Linked DNA regions of Homo sapiens: all the other regions are linked to region 5. The links are contacts of gene promoters, found by promoter capture Hi-C in blood cells and fetal thymus (Javierre and others, 2016). All regions are on one chromosome and are shown on one strand. The core of a region is centred on a gene start or on the middle of the fragment in contact, and the rest is flanking DNA. Distances in the headings are between cores, read along the strand shown. Region 1 overlaps LOC124900465 (a long non-coding RNA gene). Region 2 overlaps LINC03147 (long intergenic non-protein coding RNA 3147). Region 3 overlaps LINC03147 (long intergenic non-protein coding RNA 3147). Region 4 has its middle 46 kb from the start of LINC01549. Region 5 holds the start of BTG3 (BTG anti-proliferation factor 3).

The links. Contacts are between HindIII fragments. The CHiCAGO score rates a contact against its expected background, and 5 or more counts as called.
Region 1: a contact is called between a fragment that was not itself captured here and the fragment with the promoter of BTG3 in region 5, in 1 of 17 cell types (activated CD4 T cells). The highest score is 6.8, in activated CD4 T cells.
Region 2: a fragment that was not itself captured here is called in contact with the fragment with the promoter of BTG3 in region 5 in 5 of 17 cell types (activated CD4 T cells, total CD4 T cells, total CD8 T cells and 2 more); the score reaches 8.5 in activated CD4 T cells.
Region 3: a contact is called between a fragment that was not itself captured here and the fragment with the promoter of BTG3 in region 5, in 1 of 17 cell types (activated CD4 T cells). The highest score is 6.2, in activated CD4 T cells.
Region 4: a fragment that was not itself captured here is called in contact with the fragment with the promoter of BTG3 in region 5 in 9 of 17 cell types (monocytes, total CD4 T cells, M1 macrophages and 6 more); the score reaches 7.3 in monocytes.

What each region holds. Positions count from the first base shown.
Region 1 is chr21:17,765,880-17,768,579 of GRCh38, forward strand. All of the region lies in intron 2 of LOC124900465 (a long non-coding RNA gene), which reads left to right. Among named protein-coding and RNA genes, the nearest start is that of C21orf91-OT1, 25 kb to the right of the region's middle. The HindIII fragment of the contact is 1,318 bases long and covers 777-2,094 here.
Region 2 is chr21:17,833,742-17,836,441 of GRCh38, forward strand. LINC03147 (long intergenic non-protein coding RNA 3147) reads right to left here. Exons shown (of 3, transcript NR_024354.1): 3 at 1,931-2,085. The region is part of intron 2 of LOC124900465 (a long non-coding RNA gene); the gene reads left to right. Among named protein-coding and RNA genes, the nearest start is that of C21orf91, 16 kb to the left of the region's middle. The HindIII fragment of the contact is 2,429 bases long and covers 64-2,492 here.
Region 3 is chr21:17,853,707-17,856,406 of GRCh38, forward strand. The region is part of intron 1 of LINC03147 (long intergenic non-protein coding RNA 3147); the gene reads right to left. All of the region lies in intron 2 of LOC124900465 (a long non-coding RNA gene), which reads left to right. Among named protein-coding and RNA genes, the nearest start is that of LINC03147, 31 kb to the right of the region's middle. The HindIII fragment of the contact is 5,733 bases long and covers 1-2,700 here.
Region 4 is chr21:17,391,212-17,393,911 of GRCh38, forward strand. No RefSeq gene overlaps it. Among named protein-coding and RNA genes, the nearest start is that of LINC01549, 46 kb to the right of the region's middle. The HindIII fragment of the contact is 2,346 bases long and covers 156-2,501 here.
Region 5 is chr21:17,611,487-17,614,186 of GRCh38, forward strand. BTG3 (BTG anti-proliferation factor 3) reads right to left here and starts at 1,415. Exons shown (of 5, transcript NM_006806.5): 1 at 1,213-1,415. It overlaps BTG3-AS1 (BTG3 antisense RNA 1), which reads left to right and starts at 200. Exons shown (of 1, transcript NR_149073.1): 1 at 200-2,628. It also overlaps a transcript of CXADR not described here. The HindIII fragment of the contact is 7,083 bases long and covers 1-2,195 here.

The DNA.
Region 1 (2,700 bases), core at 186-2,685, 150 kb after region 5:
CTCAGCACATGGGGGATATGATGGTTTAAGAAAGAATGACAAGGACAAGGACACTGACAACACCCCCATTTGTCCCAAAGCAATGAAGAGCACTTGACAAGCTCCAGGCTGCCCGAGAGCAGCAAGGCCCCCCTAGGTAGGGTACCAGAACTTGGAATCACTCTTGTTCTCTTCCTTTAGTGTGTCTTCTTCTTCAACTTCTCTTTAACTTTTCAAAAAATAAATTATATCGGCCGGGTGCGGTGGCCCACGCCTCTAATCCCAGCACTTTGGGAGGCCAAGGTGGGAGGATCACGAGGTCAGGAGATCAAGACCATCCTGGCTAACACGGTGAAACCCCATCTCTACTAAAAATACAAAAAATTTAGGCGGGCGTGGTGGCGGGTGCCTGTAGTCCCAGCTACTCAGGAGTCTGAGGCAGGAGAATGGTGTGAACCCGGGAGGCGGAGCTTGCAGTGAGCCGAGATCGCGCCACTGCACTCCAGCCTGGGCGACAGAGCGAGAGTCTGTCTCAAAAAAAAAAACAAAAAGAAAAGAAAAGAAAAAATAAATAAATTATATCTCTTATTTTTCTGTGGAAAATTTTTTTCTTGAAAAATTGTATTTATTTTAAAAAATAAAGGAATCCCTGGCTTCTGCATTAAGTGCTTAGTAGATGACAAGCTCCTCAGGGCCCAAGATCCACCTCATTCATCTTTGTGTCCTTGTTCACAGGACACAAAGTGGTACGCACATGTTGAAACACTGAATGGAATTGCTTTTTGCATTCGCTCAGAAGCTTCAAATTCTCTCCGCATTGTTGAGCACAGTGAGCGCAGGGTTATTGTTTAAATATTAAAAGAGAACACAGCTAATTTGAAGCACACATTTGGGTTCTGGACTATGGTTATGCCAGCTTCATTATGAAGTTTTTCATCACTTTTTGGCCTTTTGGCTAAGATTGAATGTATTATGTTGTTTTTCTTGTTAGGATAAAACCTTTTGCTGGATTATATATCCAGAAATTTTTTAAGGCTTTTGAGGAGATTTAATTTGATACACAGCTGCATGCTCTAGGTAAGTCAATTAACACGTCTGGATCTTATTTTCCTCATGCATTAATGTAACATCTAATTGAGCAATCCATGTACTGACACCCATTTACGAGTCAGGATCATAACACCCACTATTTTAGCTTGAACGGCTGTAACCAAGTACCATAGACTGGCGGGGCTTCTAAACAACAAATTTATGTCCCACGGTTCTGGAGGCTGGAAGTTGAGATCAGGGTGCCATCAAGGCGGCGTTCCAGCGAGGATGCTCTTCTGGGTTACAGACTGCCAACTTCTGGCTGTATCCTCACATGGCAGAAAGAGGAGAGAGCTCTCTGGGGTCATTTTTATAAGGGCACTATTCTTATTCATAAGGGCTCCACCCTCATGACCTAATCACCTCCCAAAGGCCCTACCTCCTAATACAACCATATCAAGGATTAGGATTTCAACATAAGAATTTTGGAGAGTGGGTCACAAACATTCAGTCCATTGCAATACATTGGCAAACGGTTCTTGTCGTCTTATCAACTAGTGCTCATGGACATGTAAAAAATAATAATGCAATTGCGGCACATAGCAAAAGAGCTCTGGGAAGAAGGGCTCTGGAACATAGAGGAGGAGCCCCTGCTCTCTGCCTGGGGAGCTGAGACAGATTCCACAAAGACGGTGCACCTGAAAAGCGAGTGTCTCCAGAAGTGGTGGATGGGCTCCCTGAAAACAGCTTCACACTGCTTCTTCTGAGCGTGTTGGTCAGAATGGAAGAATCTCTAATGTCCCCTCCAGACCTGGTGAATGAAAATACTGGGATTTAGGAGATGGCCTAAGAAATGTTTGGGAGCAGCACATGTTTCTATTTCTCTGCTTTTTTTTTTTTTCCTTACAGATGCTTGGTTGTCTCCCATTTCAAGACATGTCTGTTTTGACTGCATAGTTACATTTGTTGTGGTGAGCAGACTGCTCATTAATATTTTAATTAAGGAACACAATTTCTGTCCTCACTGTCCCCATATACTAGTTTCTGCTTTTTTTCCACTTTCTTTAAAGAAAAAATTCTTGGAAAAGCTTTGTTTTATAGAACTCTCTTGAGCAAGAGCAAATTTGTTTTCTCCGCAAAATTAAAGGTGAGCTATCTTGGAAACATATAGACCTTTCCATATCTCTGATTTCCTGAATTTCTAGTGAGATTCCCTTGTCTTCTGATGAAAATATTTGCTGGTAGTCATTTGTAATGCAAACAGCTTCCCTAACAATCTCTCTAGAGGGTGGAAGGGAATCTGTTTCTAAAGAAACCATGTGACATTGAGGACTTCTATGACTGTTACAATTTTAAGAAAATTTTAATTTGACCTTTTTTAAAGAAAAAAATTAGGTGTAAAGTTTAATCCTTCCAATTCTTCAGAGTCTGAGAACTTGTTAAAGAGGGAGGCTCCCTAAGATCTAGAATTCTTGAAATGAATGTCCATAACCTTGAACAACTTTTCTATGTTCTCAAAATCGCTACAACAGAACCCCTGAAGGACTTGAACTTCTGTGAACTTGAAAACAGCAAGTTCTTAGAACCTCAAGTTCTCTGTCTACCAAATTAAAACATTAATTCCCATCTCATGATGACATTGCTTCCATTTTATTCCCTCAATATTATTTTGAATATTAGGGAGTGGGTGGG
Region 2 (2,700 bases), core at 28-2,527, 220 kb after region 5:
TCTTAATAAACAGTTTCCACTGATAATATAAAGGGCTGGTATAAAAATGTCTTTAAATGAGTAAGCTTTCTTTGGTAAAATTAAATCATACAAATTATTTTTAAAACCTTCTGATATATACAATATTTAGCCCAGTTTTCTAATTTTCTGGATGTAAAACAAAAGGTTTAACATACATTCCTTGAGCTGTTAGTGCTATTGAAATCTTTTGTCCCATTTAAGTCCTAAACACTTTTGGTTGGTTGAGTAGCATGTGAGTTTTTTTGGGTCTCATAGCATGCTTTTTGGCTTAATTTCAGGTTTATATATATAAATAAAGGAATTAAGTAAAAATAAAATTTGAGTTACTTTTTGAAAGCACCTGAAATCTTGGATTGGAATACGTTGTCTATTTCAAGTCTAAAGCTGTGGTTTTCCCCTTCTGCTTTACCCTTCTTCAAATGTTGTTGTAATGTAATTCTTTCCTGAGCTTTCCCTGTTTCCTTAATAATGCATAGGATGGCAATAAAAATAGTTTTAAATCTCATCCCTCCATGAGAGGTTAGCTCCCCAAGTATAAGCTCCTTTTGTATTGTACTTGTAATTGCTCATTCAATGTTGGTATTGCCCGGTAGACTGTAAGTTTCCTGAGGGCCAAGAATGCTTTTGCCTCTTCCATTGCTGCTTCCCGAGTACCTTCTGTATATTTCATAACCAAATAATGAAAATGATATATTCCATTTAAAGGGTCAAAAAAAGTTTGGAAAGAAAGTTTATGTGGGAAGAAAAGGTAATATACTGTTTTCCCACAGACATAACAGGAGAATTAATTTATATGCATGTGGAAGCTGTTCAGGAGCTACTCTTAGTTTGCTTTATGTATTTAAAGTTTGTTTTAAGTATCTTTAAGTCTTAAGTATCCCTATTTTTTTCCTCTTTTCTAGAATGATTTTGGAATTTCCACTTTTTGTTCTTGTCTACTTTGTGATTACCAAGTTCTCTAATGGTATTTGACAGTTCCCTTTGTTTTGATTTGTGACATATGATGGATAAATATAGTTAACAGATATAGAGGGGAAATTGTCACATTTAATACATGTAAACCTGTGATTTTAAAAAGAGGAACTACTCATATATATGTCTGTGATGAAACAAAAAATAGATTATCTCATATCTAGAAATAAGAAAAGGTTATTAAAATTCAGAGGAAATAAAGCTAGCAACCCTGCCTATACCAAAGAATATTTTGATTTTCATAGTGCCTTTCGTCAACTAAAGAAAGAAACTGAGGCAAATTAACATAAGTCGAGAATTTATTTGGGCCAAATTTGGGGACTGCAACCAAGGAGACACAGATTCAAGTTGCCATGAATATATGCTTTGATTAGCAGTAGTTACAAGTTGGCTTTCAATACTCATGTCTCTCTGGATCTGATACATTTTGCATACCTCACATAGCTCAGACATCTCTGAGCTACTTTTCTTCTCATTTCCCCTTTTTGATTGAGATCTTCCTCTTCTGAAAGCATTGATAATCAACATTTTAAACGTAGCTTTTCCCCATATTGCTAGGAAGGCTCATTCCCGGGTAATCTCTCTCTACATTGGAGGGAAAGAGGAGAGGCACTACAGCTTAAGAATTTAGTGAAGTCTTAGGCTAAATTAACTGGCAACACAAAGGGGCAGAGGAATTGGGTCTCAGGATTTCATCCACTTACAAAGGAAGTATGGCGTGTTGAATAATTTCTATGCATCTAGCTATCATGAGTTTAGTTTCTGTCAACAAACACTTTAGATAGAGAAATGCAAAGCATAATTGATTTAAGAATCAAAAATATGACACAAATAAGGACAATTACTAATTAAACAATTTGAAATCCAAATGTGAGAAATATTCCAATACCTGAAGGTAACCAGTCAAATAAATCATATAAGGGGTCTGTCTTTCCAACCATGGGTCATCTTGTAGCCATTTAGCCTTTTGAGTGATCTTTTTAAACTGAGTTTCAATTTCTTGTCCTGGTCTGAAGAACCAGGTGACTGGCTGCAGGTCAGCTTCAGTTGGAGATCTCTGATGATGGAAGATGCCTACTCACGCAGGGCTACCTTTTTAAAATGAGAAATGTAAATCCATGAGTCAATGCCTTTGAGTTTAGCTGCACAAGTATTGATAAGTAATACTTGATATAGCTTCTTCCAACATGATTACAGGGAATCCAAAAATCTCAAAGTTGGAAGCCATGATATTTGATGTCATAAACTCCCAAGAGCTTGCTGTTAAAAGAATCCTCAATTAATTTAGAATTTTTAGTGAAATGCTTTTTAATGCCTTGGCAATAATGAAGACTATCATCTTTAAAGAGAGCTGGTTTATAGACTCCTTCATCCAGGCACATGGGGCTTCCTGGTATCATTTCAAAGGGAAAAAGCTGATGTTTTCCAATTGGGTAGAATGTAAGTTAAGCAATAACAATGGAAGAGCCTTAGGCCAGGGAAAGTTAAATGTTTCTATAAGCTTTGTCAATTTATTTTCTTATTATCCCATTTGTGTGTTCTACTAGTCTGGAAGATGGAGGGTAGTATGTCCAATGGAAATGCTGAAAAATTGACCATATGTTACAAATAGACTGAGTTATTTGTCTAGTGAAATGGGTTCCTTGGTCACTGGGAAGACTGGAAGGAACTTTCCAAGATAGAAAAAGACAAGTATTAAAATGGCCA
Region 3 (2,700 bases), core at 154-2,653, 240 kb after region 5:
ACCCACCCGCTTGCTCTGTGCCCACATACTCTGCTTTTCACTAGCAGCAAGCTCTCTACACTCCAGCCCTCTCCACTCCTTCACCAGTTTCTATTCTCTCTCATGTATTCGAGGACATCACATCAGCAGCAGGCATCTCTCTTCTTGTAACATCATGTTTTCTCTATTGCTTCATCATTTCCATGAGCTTATAAATGCTATTATTTTTCCTATCTTAAGAGAGAAGACAATTTTCCAGACTCTTTATTCCCCTGCAGTTACTGGATCACTTCTCTGCTCCTGTAAAAGGCAACTCTTCTCAATAGTTATATCTACTTGATATCTGCAATTTGCTTGTCTCTCATTTTCTAATCAGGCATTCATTCTCGTGCCTCTTACAAAACAGCTCTTGTCAAATTGCTATTGACTTTCACATAGCTAAAACCAGCGATGGTTGTTAGTTTTCATCTTACTTGAACTGTTGGCAGCATTTGACAGAGGTGATCTCTGTCAAGGTCTTGCTTTACTGGCCCCCTCCTTTTAAGGCTTATTTGCTTGTCCTTTTATCTATTTCTAACCTCTAACCATTGGTGTGCCCTGAACAATGTCTCAGGTCTCTTCTATTTATTTTCTACACTCACTTTCTAGGTGATGTCAGCTAGTACAATGGTTTTAAATACTATCCATATATTAAGGACTCTCAAATTGATTTCTTATGCCCAGACCTCTCTCCTGAACTTCAAATTTACATACTCAAACTCCTATTCAGAATTTCATCTTGGATGTTTAATAAGTATCACAAATCTCTAAATAGTCAATGGCCCTAGGACTCAAATCTTAGAACTTTCCTCTTTAAAATGATATTATTGAGATGTAATTCACATGGCATACAAATCAACCATTTGAATTGTACAATTCAAGGGCTTTTAGTGCATTTCAGAGTTATTCAACCATTACCATAATCAATTTTAGAACATTCTCATTATCCCCCTTAAACCCATCTTGGACATTTCATATATATGTAATCATATAATATGTGGTCTTTTGTGTAAAGACTTTAGAGTGTTCTAATTTGTTTTATGCAATTTTTTTTTTTTGCAAATTTGACTGCATGAAAGTGCATTATCACAATGTTGACCTTGTGTGTGAGACATTGCACATGTACATAAAAACATTGAAACTTCCTCAATAAATGAAGGGATGTCCTTTTTGTACATCTGCATTTGTGAAAGATAAAACTTCTTGAGATCTCAACTCTCTAGGCGATTACATATGTAGTGGTGACACATTGTGGTTTCTTATCGATCTCATCAAAAGACATAGGTCATCTGTCATGGTATTTCAGATGACCACAGTTATAAAACTGGATGCACACAATTACCAACCATAGTGATATGCGTTTATACATTTTCTTTTGGACCTATTTATGAATATGGTTCATCTGCTTATAACTGTTATACCCATGTTTCTGTTGTTAGTATATCTGAGTTCTTATGCTTATAAAAATGTTATTGTTGCCTATTTTATTGTATAAAGTGGCAACTTTATACAACTTTATCATGTATTTTATTGTATACTATGAAGTATTCTGTCATGTTTTTATATGTTGCTCAAATAAATCTTTTTTACAAGCATAAATAATTTTCTTTTAAAGAAAATTAAATTTTTTTCCAGAATTATATTTTTAGAATTTTCAATTTTTAAGATTGTGATTTCTGATATTATGGTGTTTAGAATTATGTCTTTTGGTATTATGGCCCAACTCTAGTTTTTGTGACTGGCTTCTTTTGTTTAACGTGTTTTCAAGGTTCATCCACATTGTAGTATGTACAAGTACTTCATTCCTTTTAATTACCAAATAATATTCTATTGAACAGCTATACCATACTTTATCCATTCACCAGTTGATGATAATTTGGATTGTTTCCATCTTTTAGCTACTGTGAATTCTTCTTCTGTAAACATTCATGCACAAGATTTTGTGTGGACACATGTTTTCACTTGTCCTGGATATATACCTAGGAGGGGAATTGCCAAATCATATGGTAACTCTGTGTATAGAGGAATTGCCAGACTATTTTCCAAAGTGGCTTGGAATTCTTCTATTGGTGCTCACTGCATTGGTGCATGGCATCTAGGCCATGGTTTTAAATATCATCTCTATACTGAAGTCTCACAAACTTGCCTCTGAACTCGAGATCCACATGACCCATTCATTGCCCACCCACATATCCATCACCTAACTCCTGACTTTCCCCTTCACCTCACACCCCTGACCTCAAGCCTGCTTCTCCTCTTATCTTCTTCTCAATTAATGGATTCCCTTCTTCCAGTTGCTCAGGACAAAAACCTCAGAGTTGCTCTTGACTCCTCTCATTCTATCCCATCCCATATCTAATCTGTCAGCAAATCCTGTTTGCTCTACTTTCAAAATACTGTCCCCACTCCCTGTCTGCAGTAGCTCCTCTGCTACCACCCTCATCCAAATCACTCTCACTTCTTTATCACATTGTTGCAACAGCCTCCTAACTTGCCTTCCAGCTCCAGCTTGATTACCCTTCAGTCTATTCTCAACAGAGTATTCTGGATGAACTTTAAATAACTCTAATTGCTTTCCATTTGAGACTATGGCATTGGGGATCGTGTCTTTCGGGATTATTATTGGCTCTGACATGCGCACGCAGGTTGAAAGTGCCAGGAAGTTAACATTCCCAGGATTAA
Region 4 (2,700 bases), core at 79-2,578, 220 kb before region 5:
TAGTCCCAGCTACTCAGGAGGCTGAGGCATGAGAATCCCTTGAGCCGATGAGGCAGAGGTTGCAGTGAGCCGAGATCGTGCCACTGCACTCCAACCTGGTGACAGAGCGAGACTCCATCTCAAAAAAATAAAATTGAATTAAAATAAAGAGTAAAAGCTTCATATTCCATGTAATGACCATCACAGTGTTTCTCGGGAGCAGACACAGGACAGGTATCCTTCACAGGAATATTACGGAAACTATGCTATGCTTTTCCCACTGTATCTCATCAGGATGTACAAACTTAGCAAAGAAAACACACACACACACACACACACACACACACACACACACACACACAAAATATTAAGCCTGAGAAGTATAAGTACAAGGAAAGTACAAGAAAGGAAATGAAGCCAGAGTTTACTACGATAAAGAACTGGGAATGGTCTGAGACTTCATCTTATTTGCAAGCCAACAAGTTAGCCTGCCATAGTTTCATGGATGCTGGGGAAAGACCTGAGACTCCCAGGTCAGAGGCAAAGGATTTTATTACTCACAAAACAGTAAGCAATATGAGCTTTATGGTCACTCTGGTTCCCCTTGCCCTCCAGTTCCCATGGTGGTGACAAAGAGTATCCAAGGCAGATGCTGCATATGCAGTGGGTTTGTATCACAGCTAAAAAACCCTGAGCTTGGGGAACCTCAGTCTTTTATAATGGGTTGAAAGCAAACCTACATGACTTTTGGCCCCGTGGAAGACATTATCTTTACCATACTGGATAGCAAACACACCTGTCATCTGCTCTGGAGGGAGATGCTGTCTCTATAGTCCAAGGCTATTCACTATATTTATATCCTGGAAATCGCAGTCTGGAACAAAACCTGTCACTACCTGTGCCCTTAAAATGTGCAGAAATATAAATGACCCATGAAGAATTGTTGTCCAACCACTGCGTGACTCATCTCTGAAAATAATTACACATAAAACAATAAGGTAAACTCTAGATGTTGACTTACCCAAAAAATTGTGACTAAATATATTGGCAAAGGGGAGAAATGGGAGGAGTATGTTGGGGAAGGTAGACAGGCATAAAACATAATAAATTTTATATTCTATACTAGGAAATAAATAGATGACATCTAAAACAGAAAATCAAAAAATAGAAGTAAAAGTGTATTACTTTTAAAATGTAGGAAAATAAATAAAAGTGTTAAGTGTGGTATTGCCTCTTAGGTATAGTTTTGTTTTCATGAAATGGGAAAGGTGGAACAAGCAAGCCCTTTTTTTCAGCATAAGCTATTTGACCTTTTTAACTATACACAAGATTATCTTCATAAAAATTAAAATACAAAGCCAGGCATGGTGGTGCACACCTGTAGTCCCAGCTACTTGGCAGGCTGAGGCAGGAGGATCACTTGATCCCAGGAGTTCAAGACCAACCTAGACAACATAGAAGGCCCCTTCTCTAAAGTAAAATAAAATAAGCCTGGGCATGGTGGCTCACACCTGTAATCCCAGCACTTTGGGAGGCCAAGGCAGAAGGATTGCTTGAGCCCAGGAGTTCAAGACCAGCCTGGGCAACACAGTGAGACCCTGTCTCTACAAAAAAAAATTTTTAAAGGCCAGGCATGGTGACTCACGCCTGTAATCCCACCACTTTGGGAGGTCAAGGCCGGCAGATCACTTCAGGTCAAGAGTTCGAGACCAGCCTGGCCAACATGGTGAAACCCCGTCTCTACTAAAAATACAAAAATTAGCCAGGTGTGGTCGTGCACACCTATAATCCCAGCTACTCAGAAGACTGGGGCAGGAGAATCACTTGAACCAGGAGGCAGAGGTTGCAGTGAGCTGAGATCACTCCACTTGCACTCCAGCCTGGGTGACAGAGCAAGATCCTGTCTCAAGATCCTTTTAAGGCTCCATCTCAAAAAAAAAAAAAAAAAAAAAATTAGCCAGGCATGGTAGCACCCTTCTGTAATCCCAGCTACTCAGGGGGCTGAAATGGGAGGAACGCTTGATCCCAGGAGGTAGAGACTGCAGTGAGCCATGATCGCACCACTGCACTCCAACCTGGATGACAGGGCAAGATGCTGTCTCGAAAAAATAAAATAAAAGATAAAATAAAAAATGTAATTTAATTTAGAGAGAGAGGGAAATAGAAAGAGCTCCTGGAGCACAATAGTTTTATTATAATCATTAGATTATGGCTTGAGGAAATCTGCCCCAAACATCTCTAAAGAACTAATAAGGATATAGGCACCTCAGTGTTTGAAAAGGTAGCTTTTAAAGGCATAAAGCCAGTTGCCTTATCTTAAGGAACAGACATTCACTGTCAGACTATAGGACAACACCCTCAGCCCTGGTAGGTATGATTGGATTTCCACTCTAGCATTCACTGGGCACAATAGCTACGCGCTCTTCTCAAAGGATGTTGGAAGACACAAAATGACCTCATTGCTGGTATGGTGTCCGCAATAATATCTCCCAGCTGCTCTAGGCTGTATTCACAACAAAGGAAGCTTGACTTTGTGCAGCCCTCCAGGCTGTTAACTCTCAGGAGCCCATTCATCTACACAGACATATGGATAGGAACAACGTGGGGGTGGAGGTGGAAAAAAACAGTGAAAAAGAAAAAAATGCTAACATATTTCAATTTCATAAAGAGTCAAGTGTTATGTCACTTAACGTTTTCTTCCAATCTTTTTTGATACTAAAA
Region 5 (2,700 bases), core at 165-2,664:
TTTGAAGAAATGATAGCTCGAACAGCTGAAAAATAAGCCCACTCCCACCAGTATTCTAGGAGTACCAAAAGGTGAAAGAGGGAGAGTTACAGTCAGGGCAAGAACCACCAGAGGCAAGCAGGGCCAAGAAGACCTCAGGCGTCTTGAGTAAGTAGGCGTCCTCCACCCACACTCAGAGCAAAAGGCTCCCATTTTAAATATCGCACGGTGACGTCATCCTGGGACCTCGTCACCGCGGCGGCTGCTCCTCAAGTTCTACTTTGTTCCACAAGGCTCCTCTGCTCACGGCTGCGTGGATAAAACCCAAAGGGAATCCAGAATCAAGCTCGGCCTCGCAGGAGTTTATAACTTTTGTACTTTTCCCTCCCTTGTAACGAAAAGCTAATCGCAAACGTTTCTAGGAACACATTTTTCTCCTGATAGACGTTCCCAAGGTGGAGGGCGCGAGAAGACTGGCCCGTGGGGTGAGGAGCCCCGGCCCGACCTCAGCGGCGCCACAAAGCCATGAAGAGGGGAAATAATTTTCCAAGGGGCTAAGAGTTGGACTTTCTGAAGCCATCGAAACCTGCTGCTAGGCTCTCCCGCTGGGGTTTTGAGAGAGGTAGGTGAGGAGGGATCAAACATCTCCACCCGCTCTTGAAAGAACCGCCTTGAGCTGCGCCCAACTTCTGCAATCCCGGTTTTCCCCAAGTTCAAGGGGAAGGGCCCTGGCGCCCAATGCCCAGCCTCCCCGACAACATCCTCGCCAGGGTGCGCCTGCCCCGCGGGTCCGCTGTCCCCGGCGGGCGGCCCTGGGTTCGAGGACCCGGCTTCCCGGAGGCGCGACTCTCCAGCAAACAAGCGGAGCTCCAGAAAAAACACCGACGCGAAGGGGGTGGACAGAGGGTGGGAAGCCGCGGGGTTGTCGCCCACCCGGAGGCGGAATGTAACGCGCTGTGGGAAACGTGGCAGGAGCCCTGAGGCGGCGTCTTTTTCCTCAGGCGCCCGCCGAGGGTCCCGCGGAAAGCCTCGCGGGCCGCCCTCGCGGCCCGCAGCCCCGCTCTGGCGCCGAGCCGGAGCCCATGCAACCTGGTTCCATCCCCTGCCCCTCCCCTGTCCCCGGTGCGCCGCCCGCCAGCGAGCCTTCGACGTGGCCGCAGGGGCGACGGGACCACCCTCCCCCGATACCCACAGCCCCGCCATGTCTGCCTTTCCCCGGCCCGGTCTCCTCACCGCCGCTGCCGCCGCCGCTCTTCGGCCGGAGATTCGGCGGCCCAGACCGTGTCCTGGCCGGGAACTGAGGGCTCCGCCTCAACGGGCCCGCGCTGGGCAACAGGGAGCGCAGCGAGCCTCGTCCGGCGCGTGCGGCTCCCGCGTCGTCGGGCGGCCAAGCGCGCGTTGAGAGGACTGGCGGGCGGACGAGCGCGCACACGAGTGAGCGCAGCCCCAAAGCGGCGCGCAGGGGGCTCGCGGCCCGGAAGAGGGGAGGGGCGATGACCCGGGAAAGGGTTGGCGCGCGCGGGATCGGCTCGCGCGCCTGAGGGGCGGTGCCGGGGGCGGGGCTTCGCCGCGAGGCCACCCCCGAGCCCCGGGCCTAGCCGCACGGGAGGCGACACACCCTCGCCCTACCCTGAGCCTGGCGCAGACCCTCGACCGCGACGGCGCGGTCCGCAGAACCGCGGGCTTCCCTCCCCGGCAAAAAGCGGCGCTGAAGGCCTGTGGGACCCCCGCCCGGCCGCCCTACGTGCGTCAGCGCCTTCGGGGGTCGCGCGGGCTTGGTCCTTTCGGCTGTCTCGGCCTTTTTGTTTCCCCCTCAGGTCTCTCCACGCTGCACTTGACACCCTCAGGGCGGAATGGCGAGTTCTAGACCCAGCTCTCTAGACCCGGGGCTTCATGGGGGACACGGACTCGACGGGAAGGGGAACTTGGCATTTATGGACAGATCCTCATCCTTCTTGCTGTAGTCAATTACACGCACGTTAACCGTGCAGCCGCCCTGCTGTATTTTAGGCGGTTGTTGGCACTCCTAGTTGGGCCCTTCCCTGGCCCCTCACAGCAGGGCCTGCCTCCTGTGGACGCTTGTGTGCTGCCCTGGCACCGGCCACTGTGTTTTGCATAAAGGAGAGGCTCCAAAGATGTTGGCCAAAGGAATGAAGCCTTGAGAGTCCAGGCTTTCTATTTCTGAGACACTCTACTCAAGGACTTCCCAGATGCAAAGCTTCATCTTTGAGCAAATACAAATATGGAGAGGGAACATTAACTTTCTGAAGAAAAGAAGGAACATCTTTTCAACCTTTTATATTGAGTTAACACCATGGTCTTAGTTTTGTGAAAGCACTTTAATACATCCAACTAGCGGGAGGAATACAAGATATTCCTACCTTTTTATTATTATTATTAAAAGAGGGCTAAACCATGTTGTAAACTACTTAAGAACTGAATGTTCAAGTTGTACAGTATATTGGCCAGATTCCTTACTGCCCACTAGGCTTGGGAGCATGTTTTCAGCTCAGTTTTATGAATGTTTTAAATTTGTATTACTGATCTTTGTTATAGCCAATTAGCAATTCAAAATGGTAATTTTTTTAGCAGTAATAAATATACCATCCCCCAAACAGTACAATAAACTTTATTTGTAAAAAAAAAAAATTATACTCTTCTAGGACTTAGTCTACTTACTGGTACATTTAAAGAGGATATTTACACCTTGGAGTCTTCTAG